3 separate regions of the Homo sapiens genome follow, and all the other regions are linked to region 3. The links are contacts of gene promoters, found by promoter capture Hi-C in blood cells and fetal thymus (Javierre and others, 2016). All regions are on one chromosome and are shown on one strand. The core of a region is centred on a gene start or on the middle of the fragment in contact, and the rest is flanking DNA. Distances in the headings are between cores, read along the strand shown. Region 1 overlaps DCPH1 (damage control phosphatase 1). Region 2 overlaps RMND1 (required for meiotic nuclear division 1 homolog). Region 3 holds the start of FBXO5 (F-box protein 5).

The links. Contacts are between HindIII fragments. The CHiCAGO score rates a contact against its expected background, and 5 or more counts as called.
Region 1: a contact is called between a fragment that was not itself captured here and the fragment with the promoter of FBXO5 in region 3, in 2 of 17 cell types (non-activated CD4 T cells and naive CD4 T cells). The highest score is 7.2, in non-activated CD4 T cells.
Region 2: a contact is called between a fragment that was not itself captured here and the fragment with the promoter of FBXO5 in region 3, in 1 of 17 cell types (non-activated CD4 T cells). The highest score is 5.7, in non-activated CD4 T cells.

Annotation. Positions count from the first base shown.
Region 1 is chr6:151,454,235-151,456,934 of GRCh38, reverse strand. It overlaps DCPH1 (damage control phosphatase 1), which reads right to left. Exons shown (of 5, transcript NM_024573.3): 2 at 2,282-2,387. Among named protein-coding and RNA genes, the nearest start is that of DCPH1, 3.1 kb to the right of the region's middle. RefSeq lists a silencer at 847-1,141 and an enhancer at 776-1,533. The HindIII fragment of the contact is 3,808 bases long and covers 1-2,700 here.
Region 2 is chr6:151,435,936-151,438,635 of GRCh38, reverse strand. It overlaps RMND1 (required for meiotic nuclear division 1 homolog), which reads left to right. Exons shown (of 12, transcript NM_017909.4): 3 at 2,082-2,190. Among named protein-coding and RNA genes, the nearest start is that of RMND1, 15 kb to the left of the region's middle. The HindIII fragment of the contact is 1,848 bases long and covers 334-2,181 here.
Region 3 is chr6:152,981,637-152,984,336 of GRCh38, reverse strand. FBXO5 (F-box protein 5) reads left to right here and starts at 1,296. Exons shown (of 5, transcript NM_012177.5): 1 at 1,296-1,480. The coding sequence starts at 1,378. RefSeq lists enhancers at 333-452, 743-962 and silencers at 993-1,312, 1,793-1,862. The HindIII fragment of the contact is 9,521 bases long and covers 1-2,390 here.

The sequences.
Region 1 (2,700 bases), core at 35-2,534, 1.5 Mb after region 3:
CCTTCAGTCACCTGGTGATTACGGGCATACAGGCCAAGTAGCAATATACTAGGACTTCATTAATTACTACATTTTAGATCACTCTGGCCGAAAAAACTGAAATTACAAAAGCATTATGGGGCCAGGCACAGTGGCTCACGCCTGTAATGCCAGCACTTTAGGATGCTGAACTGGGAGAATTGCTGGAATCTAGGAGTTTGAGGCTGCAGTGAGCTATGACTGCACCACTGCACTCTGCCTAGTAGACAGAACAAGACCCTGTCTCAAAAAACAACAACAAGAAAAACAAAAGTATTATGGTAATTTGCTTGCGTATATGACCAAATACTAAAGTGAACTATCCAAATTTGGCTAAATTATACTTGTGTGATAAAGATATGTCAGTTACCAAAATTATGTTTATGTGATAAACATTAAAACCATTCAGCAATATAATTGTCAGTGTCTAAATTAAGCCGGATTTTAGCAACAAGGAACAACAGGTAATCCCTGTGTTATGCCAGGATTAGTTTTAAACAAGACAATATAAAAGAAGTTGAAAGAAGTAGAACATTACACTCAAACTGCATGTGTGTTATCTTGCTCCATTTCAATTTGGCCAAGGAGAAAAGATCACCAACCATTTCTCTAAATTTTTGTTTTCAACTCTCAAAAAAAATGTACTGGTATATGTATGCTCTTTTACAGTCTATTGTGTAATAGAAAGATTACTGAACCTACAAGTTTAAAGACCTATGTCTAACATAACATGTGGGGAAAAGCAAGAGAGATCAGATTGTTACTGTGTCTGTGTAGAAAGAAGTAGACATAGGAGACTCCATTTTGTTCTGTACTAAGAAAAATTCTTCTGCCTTGAGATTCTGTTAATCTATAACCTTACCCCCAACCCCGTGCTCTCTGAAACATGTGCTGTGTCAACTCGGAGTTAAATGGATTAAGGGCGGTGCAAGATGTGCTTTGTTAAACAGATGCTTGAAGGCAGCATACTCCTTGAGAGTCATCACCACTCCCTAATCTCAAGTACCCAGGGGCACAAAAACTGCGGAAGGCCGGAAGGCCGCAGGGACCTCTGCCTAGGAAAGCCAGGTATTGTCCAAGGTTTCTCCCCATGTGATAGTCTGAAATATGGCCTCGTGGGAAGGGAAAGACCTGACCGTCCCCCAGCCCGACACCCGTAAAGGGTCTGTGCTGAGGAGGATTAGTGTAAGAGGAAGGCATGCCTCTTGCAGTTGAGACAAGAGGAAGGCATCTGTCTCCTGCCCGTCCCTGGGCAATGGAATGTCTCGGTATAAAACCCAATTGTATGTTCCATCTACTGAGATAGGGAAAAACCGCCTTAGGGCTGGAGGTGGGACATGCGGGCAGCAATACTGCTTTGTAAAGCATTGAGATGTTTATGTGTATGCATATCTAAAAGCACAGCACTTAATCCTTTACATTGTCTATGATGCAAAGACCTTTGTTCACGTGTTTGTCTGCTGACCCTCTCCCCACAATTGTCTTGTGACCCTGACACATCCCTCTCTCGGAGAAACACCCACGAATGATCAATAAATACTAAGGGAACTCAGAGGCTGGCGGGATCCTCCATATGCTGAACGCTGGTTCCCCAGGTCCCCTTATTTCTTTCTCTATACTTTGTCTCTGTGTCTTTTTCTTTTCCAAGTCTCTCGTTCCACCTTACGAGAAACACCCACAGGTGTGGAGGGGCAACCCACCCCTTCAATAACATAGTTATTTGGATTTTTCCTCATCCATTAATTGAATGGACAAAGTGATTTCTAAAGTCCTATTCTGCACTGAATGCTAATGAGTCCCAACTTGAATCAGTACAATGTGTCAATCAATTATAATTCATATCACTGAGCTTTGCATAGCAGCTTGAACTTCCAGGACTCAAGATCTCAAATTAGTAATATAAATACTGCAACTCAAATTAAACTTGAAATTTAAAAAGCTCTTCTAAGCAACTCAATTGCTTAGTCACTTGACTAAGTCAATTGCAAGTCTGTTGCCCAGTCACCAATTACAACATTGCATATATTAGAAAATACATTCTGAAGTCTAAATAACTGACAGAATTAATTATTGGAACACAATCATTTTCTAAATTGAAGATTGGCTGTTCTATCTTCATTTCAATGTATTACCTTAAAAACAAATAAATACTTGGCCCATCTATTGATTTTTACATTTAAAGGAAAATTGATACCTTCAAGAACTATTTATTATGTTTCTGTTGAGAAATTAACAAAAAATTAAAAGTTAAAACAATTCTTACCTCTCCGTGTTTCTCAAAAAATTCACTTTTATGTCGATGCAATGTATCAATAACCTTAGTTAAGATCTGTGGTATTCTGTCTTTAATTGTAAGATATGCAAATGATCTAGAAAAGAGTCACATGCAATATATAACTTAGCAGCATCAATACTAGAAGACTGGCTATCTTTTAGTTTCTGGAACACTTCATGTATATTAAACTCCTCATACAACTATTAAAAGATAGACAAGTATTGTATGATTACTATATTAAGACATAAGAAAACCTGGAAAATTCGCTGGTATGTCATGGAAGCCAAACTGTCTTGGTGCCTCTAATCCCAGATTCTCCCATGGAGTCTGTTTAATCATTCTTATCTTTCCTATTCTATTGCTTTTATTTTCCTAAATCAGAAACTCGCTTAGCAAAGTGATAGGAT
Region 2 (2,700 bases), core at 8-2,507, 1.5 Mb after region 3:
ATGATGATGGAAATCTGGATTTTGTGTGAAATCTCTCAGTTTATTGTTGACAAGTCAATTTGAATTTTAGAAACGTGATGTAGGTCAACTCTTGAGTTGGATGGTTCTCCGAGCTGCCAGTTTACAACTCCGATTCTAGCAAAAGAGACAGCCTCTGCCATTTTCAGTACAGCTACAGGAAGATCCTTCAGTGGACTAGCTTGTGACCTGCTTATCTCCTTTTTGTGCCTCTTGCTCTTCCCACTTCAGCCCAAACTAAGCACATGAGCTGTAGCCATCACAGAAGTAATTCTGACATCCAACCTAATGTACTGTGATTTCACCTAGCAAGCTTGAGTGAATTTGCCAGGTCTTGCAGAGTGGAGCCTACCCGATGTCTCGCCTGATGCCCCTTGCTAGGATTCCTTTCTTTCAGCTGGCCGAATCTTTACACACATCGTACATCAGCTAGTTTTAACTCCATGAAGCCTTAAAAAGAACTAGTGCTCACAGGTCTAAACCTTAAGCACGTGCCTGTTCCCTGTACTCTGGTAACTCCTGATACATTTTTATTTGTATATCCCCGTGTTCCTACTTTCATATGTGACTATGGGAATTAGCTAATTTGGAAGGAATTAGCAGTTATCTGCTCATAATTAGGGTACTACATCCATTTATCCCCACATTCCCCAGTAATTTCAGCTTGTCTGACTTTTTTTCTAATTGGATTAGTCTCATTTTGTTTATGAGTAGATACTTTATTGATTTTGGATTTTTCAGTTTGCATGGATCCTCAGGTTCTCTGTTATTCCTCTACCTTTAAACCACGCATCAGAGCTGTGGAACAGATTGAGGAAGGGCAAATGGGGTCAGGCCATTTCATGAGAAAGAGCCAGGAGATACAGAATGGAGGTGGGAGGAAGGAATGAATTAATATATACTTCTCTAGAATTTCATACCAGGAATATACAGAATGGGAAAGAATTGGGGAGCTGAGAGGAGTAAATCCTAAGAATAAATGTTGATTTAGTGACTCATAAACTTGTTTTGGCCAACTAGAATCTAACAACTACTGAACAGTTGTGTTAGCCACAGTCCTGAGCACTTTGTTTATTAGCTTATTTAAACTTTACAACAACCCCATAAAGTAGGCATTATTGTTATTCTGATACTCTTTTAAAATTGTAACCAACTTCTGTGCCTAAAATCTTAACTCTTATGCCAATAGCTTTCAAACTTTATTGACCACATCTTATAGTGAGAAATATATTTAACATTTTACATACATAGCGACCTAGAGTAGATACATAGATACATGTAAGTGACAGAAAACTTCATAAAATAGCATTTCCTGTGAATAATGCACTGTAATATTTTCTATTTAGTTTTATTAAAAAAGCTGTTTTGGGCCAACTAAATTGGTATCAGAACTCACTAATGTGTTGTGACTTACAGTTTGAAAAAACACAGCATTGAGCCATAGTGCTTACCATCTGTATTTTATATAGACACAAGATGACTTTCCTCATGTGTGCAAAGGCAAGATGGGGCATGAGACAAAGTACAAACCAAACCAAGACACATGCTCAGATTTACAGACCTTTTTGTTAAATGTTAACCAGTGTAAAAATACTGTAATTCCTTTGGGGATTTAAAGGAATCTGCCTGTACAAGAGTAGTTACAAATTAGGAAATGACCTCAAATACTAATGTTGCTTTGAAAAAGAGTCATGGAAACTCAGGGTTGGAGAGACTTAAACATTCCATCCAGTCACCCATGTGATGCCTTAATCATCTCTATTTTGCATTCAATCTGTGCTTGAGATACTACCAGTTGAGTGTGGCTTCCCTTTCAGAATAATCCATTCCATCTTTTTGCCTGGCGGGAGGGAGCAAGTTCTTTTCAAGATTGAGCTGAAATTTGCCTCCCAGTAACTTCATTCTCTTCATCTTCATCCCATCCCTTGTATCACCCTTGGAGATGTTTGAAGAAAATTCTGGAGTTCTAGCTTTGCAGAATGGAGTCCAGTAGGGTGCTCAGCAGCCGTCACAGATGCTTCAGCCTCTTGGTAACCCATGTTATGCTCATTTCCCTGGAACAGGACCTAATGCACTGCACAGCATTTGCAACGGCAGATGAGTATCATCTGGGAAATCTGTCTCAAGATCTGGCCTCCCACGGATATGTTGAAGTAACAAGCTTGCCTAGAGGTACTTCTTCTTGAACCTGGGGCCAAGTATGTTAAAATGTATTGGATAATTTTCCTATGATACTATCTTAAGTATGTATTTGTTTGCAATTCATTTTCTTTTGAAAGGATTGTATCATAAAAGTGGATGTTGAATCTCTTTATAAAGATGACAAAGTTAAGAATTAAAATGTATTTACAGAGAACTCATTAAAATCAGTATGATTTATTAAGATTATTTATAGGATCATTATTACTTGAGGTGGTCAGAGGTCATACTACTTCATTTCTAGCACATTAAGAAGTTATTTTAGTTTGTGTGTGTCTGTGTGTGTTTTGTGTTTTTTTTTTTTTTGTTTTTTGGGATGGAGTTTCACTCTTGTTGCCCAGGCTGGAGTGCAATGGCGCGATCTCAGCTCACTACAACTTCCGCCTCCCAGGTTCAAGCGATTTTCCTGCCTCAGCCTCCGGAGTAGCTAGGATTACAGGCATGCGCCACCACACCTGGCTAATTTTTGTATTTTTAGTAGAG
Region 3 (2,700 bases), core at 47-2,546:
ACTTGTATGATTCATCCTAATCCTGGCCGCGCCCCACCGGACTCGTCACTAACGGTACTGAAAACTGACTACAGCCAAGAACTCACTCCGAGGCTGCAGAAAGGCACCAGAGGGAAACAGCAAAGGAGGATTCGCCGTTTTGGAGTTCACATCCCGTTGCTTCACTGGGCTGTAGCCATAAAGCTGAGTTCAGGGAATGCACTGCCCTACTTAAGTGCATATTCAAATTGTGAAAAGTTAAGCATCACTAATACTCCGGTACACTTTCATACTGACGTCCATGCCAGCCATCACTAAAAACTCCCTTGGCCACGGGGGTCCAGCCCAAGAGGGCGGGCACTTCTATTTATTCTTTTTTTGGGAGCAGGACTACTGTCTCCTACACCTGGCCCTTTAAGGAAAGGAACAAAAACCCAGGGGAGCGTAGCTGCACACTCAGTAAACTTAACGTTCCTATAAACCAGTAGCGTCTGAAGTGTGGTTGAAAATACAAATAAACGCGCTTGCAAGGAAGAAGTGCCTCGGTCCTACCCTCGGCCCCGCCGGAAGGCCCTGGGAGATGCAGCCGCAGGTCTCCTGCTACAGCCGCTGGGGAAGGCCGCACAGCCTCCTCGCCCACCCCGGAGGAAAAAATCGCGGGGGACTCCAGTGCGCAGGCGCCGACCCGCCAACTCCGCAGCCACAGCCCGCCAAGGCGCCTGCGCAGAGGCGTGGGTCAAGGGGAGGGTCGAGTTAGGAGGGAGAGCAGAGCGCGCGCGTAAATCCTAGAGAGGCGGGCTAAGCTGGACTGGGGGGAGGGTCCGTCTTCCGGAAAGTCTGGATTCCCGGACGAGCCGAGTTGCTGCTCACCGAACTCCCGTTCGAGAGATGATCGAAGAAAGTCGGCTACCATTTGTACCCATCAAAGATCTCCAGATGGAAGCCAGCGCTGAATTTGGGCTGAGATTAGGACTTGCAGGAGGCCGGTCCAGAAGACGGCGGAAGGAATCTTGGCGGGCGCACGCATGCGTGATAGACCCTCCACACGTGTGGCCGGGCCGCGGCCTCCCCGTGCTCGGAGGTCCCGCCCCCGGCCGTAGCATCTTTCCGGACGTGGGGAGCCGGTAAGCTGGAAGGGGGCTGGGCTTCGCGGCTCGGCCCCGCCTCGGCAGCCTCCAATTGGGCGCGGACGAGGGCGCCCCCACCCACTGCCCTCCTATTGGTGCGCGCATGCAAGCGACGCGTCTCATTGGACCGCGCGGATTTAGGCACCAAATTCAAAGATTTTAAAAGTACCAGCTGGCGCCTTTTAAGAGATACAGGTCTGTGAAGCAGGCAGGTTGCTCAGCTGCCCCCGGAGCGGTTCCTCCACCTGAGGCAGACTCCACGTCGGCTGGCATGAGCCGGCGCCCCTGCAGCTGCGCCCTACGGCCACCCCGCTGCTCCTGCAGCGCCAGCCCCAGCGCAGTGACAGCCGCCGGGCGCCCTCGACCCTCGGATAGTGAGTGAGGGGAGCGGTCGCGAGGGGGGCGCGCACGCCAGGAGGGGTGCACGGGGAGGGTCGCAGCCTGAGACCCTGACCCGACGTCCCTCGGAGCCTGGACGCGCGGCCATGCCACACGCCCGGCCTCGGGCGGCGGCAGCGGTTCCTGGGTCCGGGAGGAGGGCGGCTGGGTGTCGGGGGGAAGCCAGAAGAGCCAGATGTGCAGGGGCGGGATGGCGGGCCGCGGGGTCCCGCCACCCACGCCGACCGTGGACTCCAGCCCCGGGAGGTGCGGGTCGTGGCATCCCAGGGCGCCCTTTTTCCTCCTCGGAAGACCCACCTACCCCACCCTGCTTGAATAGGCGCCAAATGCCCCTCCCCTCCCCCACCCCGGGGCCCCCGGCGGTGACAGGGCTGCGAGCGAGAAGCCCCCAGGGCCTGGCCAGGTGCCTCACCTTCTCCCCCTGCGCCCCTTTTCTACATCTGCCCCGCACCCTCACAGCCAAAGGCAGTTTCCCCGATTTTTCGCGGTCCCAGCCTTGCTGGCGGGCGCGGGAGATCGCGCTCGCGGTTATCTCCCGCCTCCTCCGCGTGTCCCGCGCCCTGAGGGGCAGCCCCACCGATCCCTCAGGAGTTCCAGGGTCTCCCTCCCCACTCCCGCCAAATGGAGAGACACCCCCCCAACTCATTGGACCAAACTCAACTGGGACATCCAAACAAAAACGTTACTTTTTCCCAATTTTTTCTCCCTTTGCCCGTTAACCCAGTCTCAGGGCCTGGAGTGGAAAGGGAAGACTTTAAAAAAAGCAATTTTTACTACGAACCTTGAATTTGTCCATAGTATTAAGATGATTTTGTAAGAATCGAAGAATTGGTGACTTTTTCCCGATAACTCATGAAGAATTAGATAGTCCTTTATTTCAAAGCTTGCAGAGAATGGAATGCACTCAAATGCTTATTTTTATCCTCTTTGTTGCTACCTCTAAATAAAATCTATATGCACTTATTTTTACCTGAGAAATAACCCAAAATGAAAAAATTTAGCAATTCGGCATTGTACTATTTTGTAATGACTCTATTATTAAAAAAGAACTCTAGAAAAAAATACTTAATTTTAATTTTAATAGATTAAATATATTTCTAGAAGATCCTGGATCGTCAGTCTACCATCGAAATTCTGAAGCTTGATGGCCTTATGAGGGTTTTTTTTTTTTCTTTTTTGATAACTCTAATTGTCT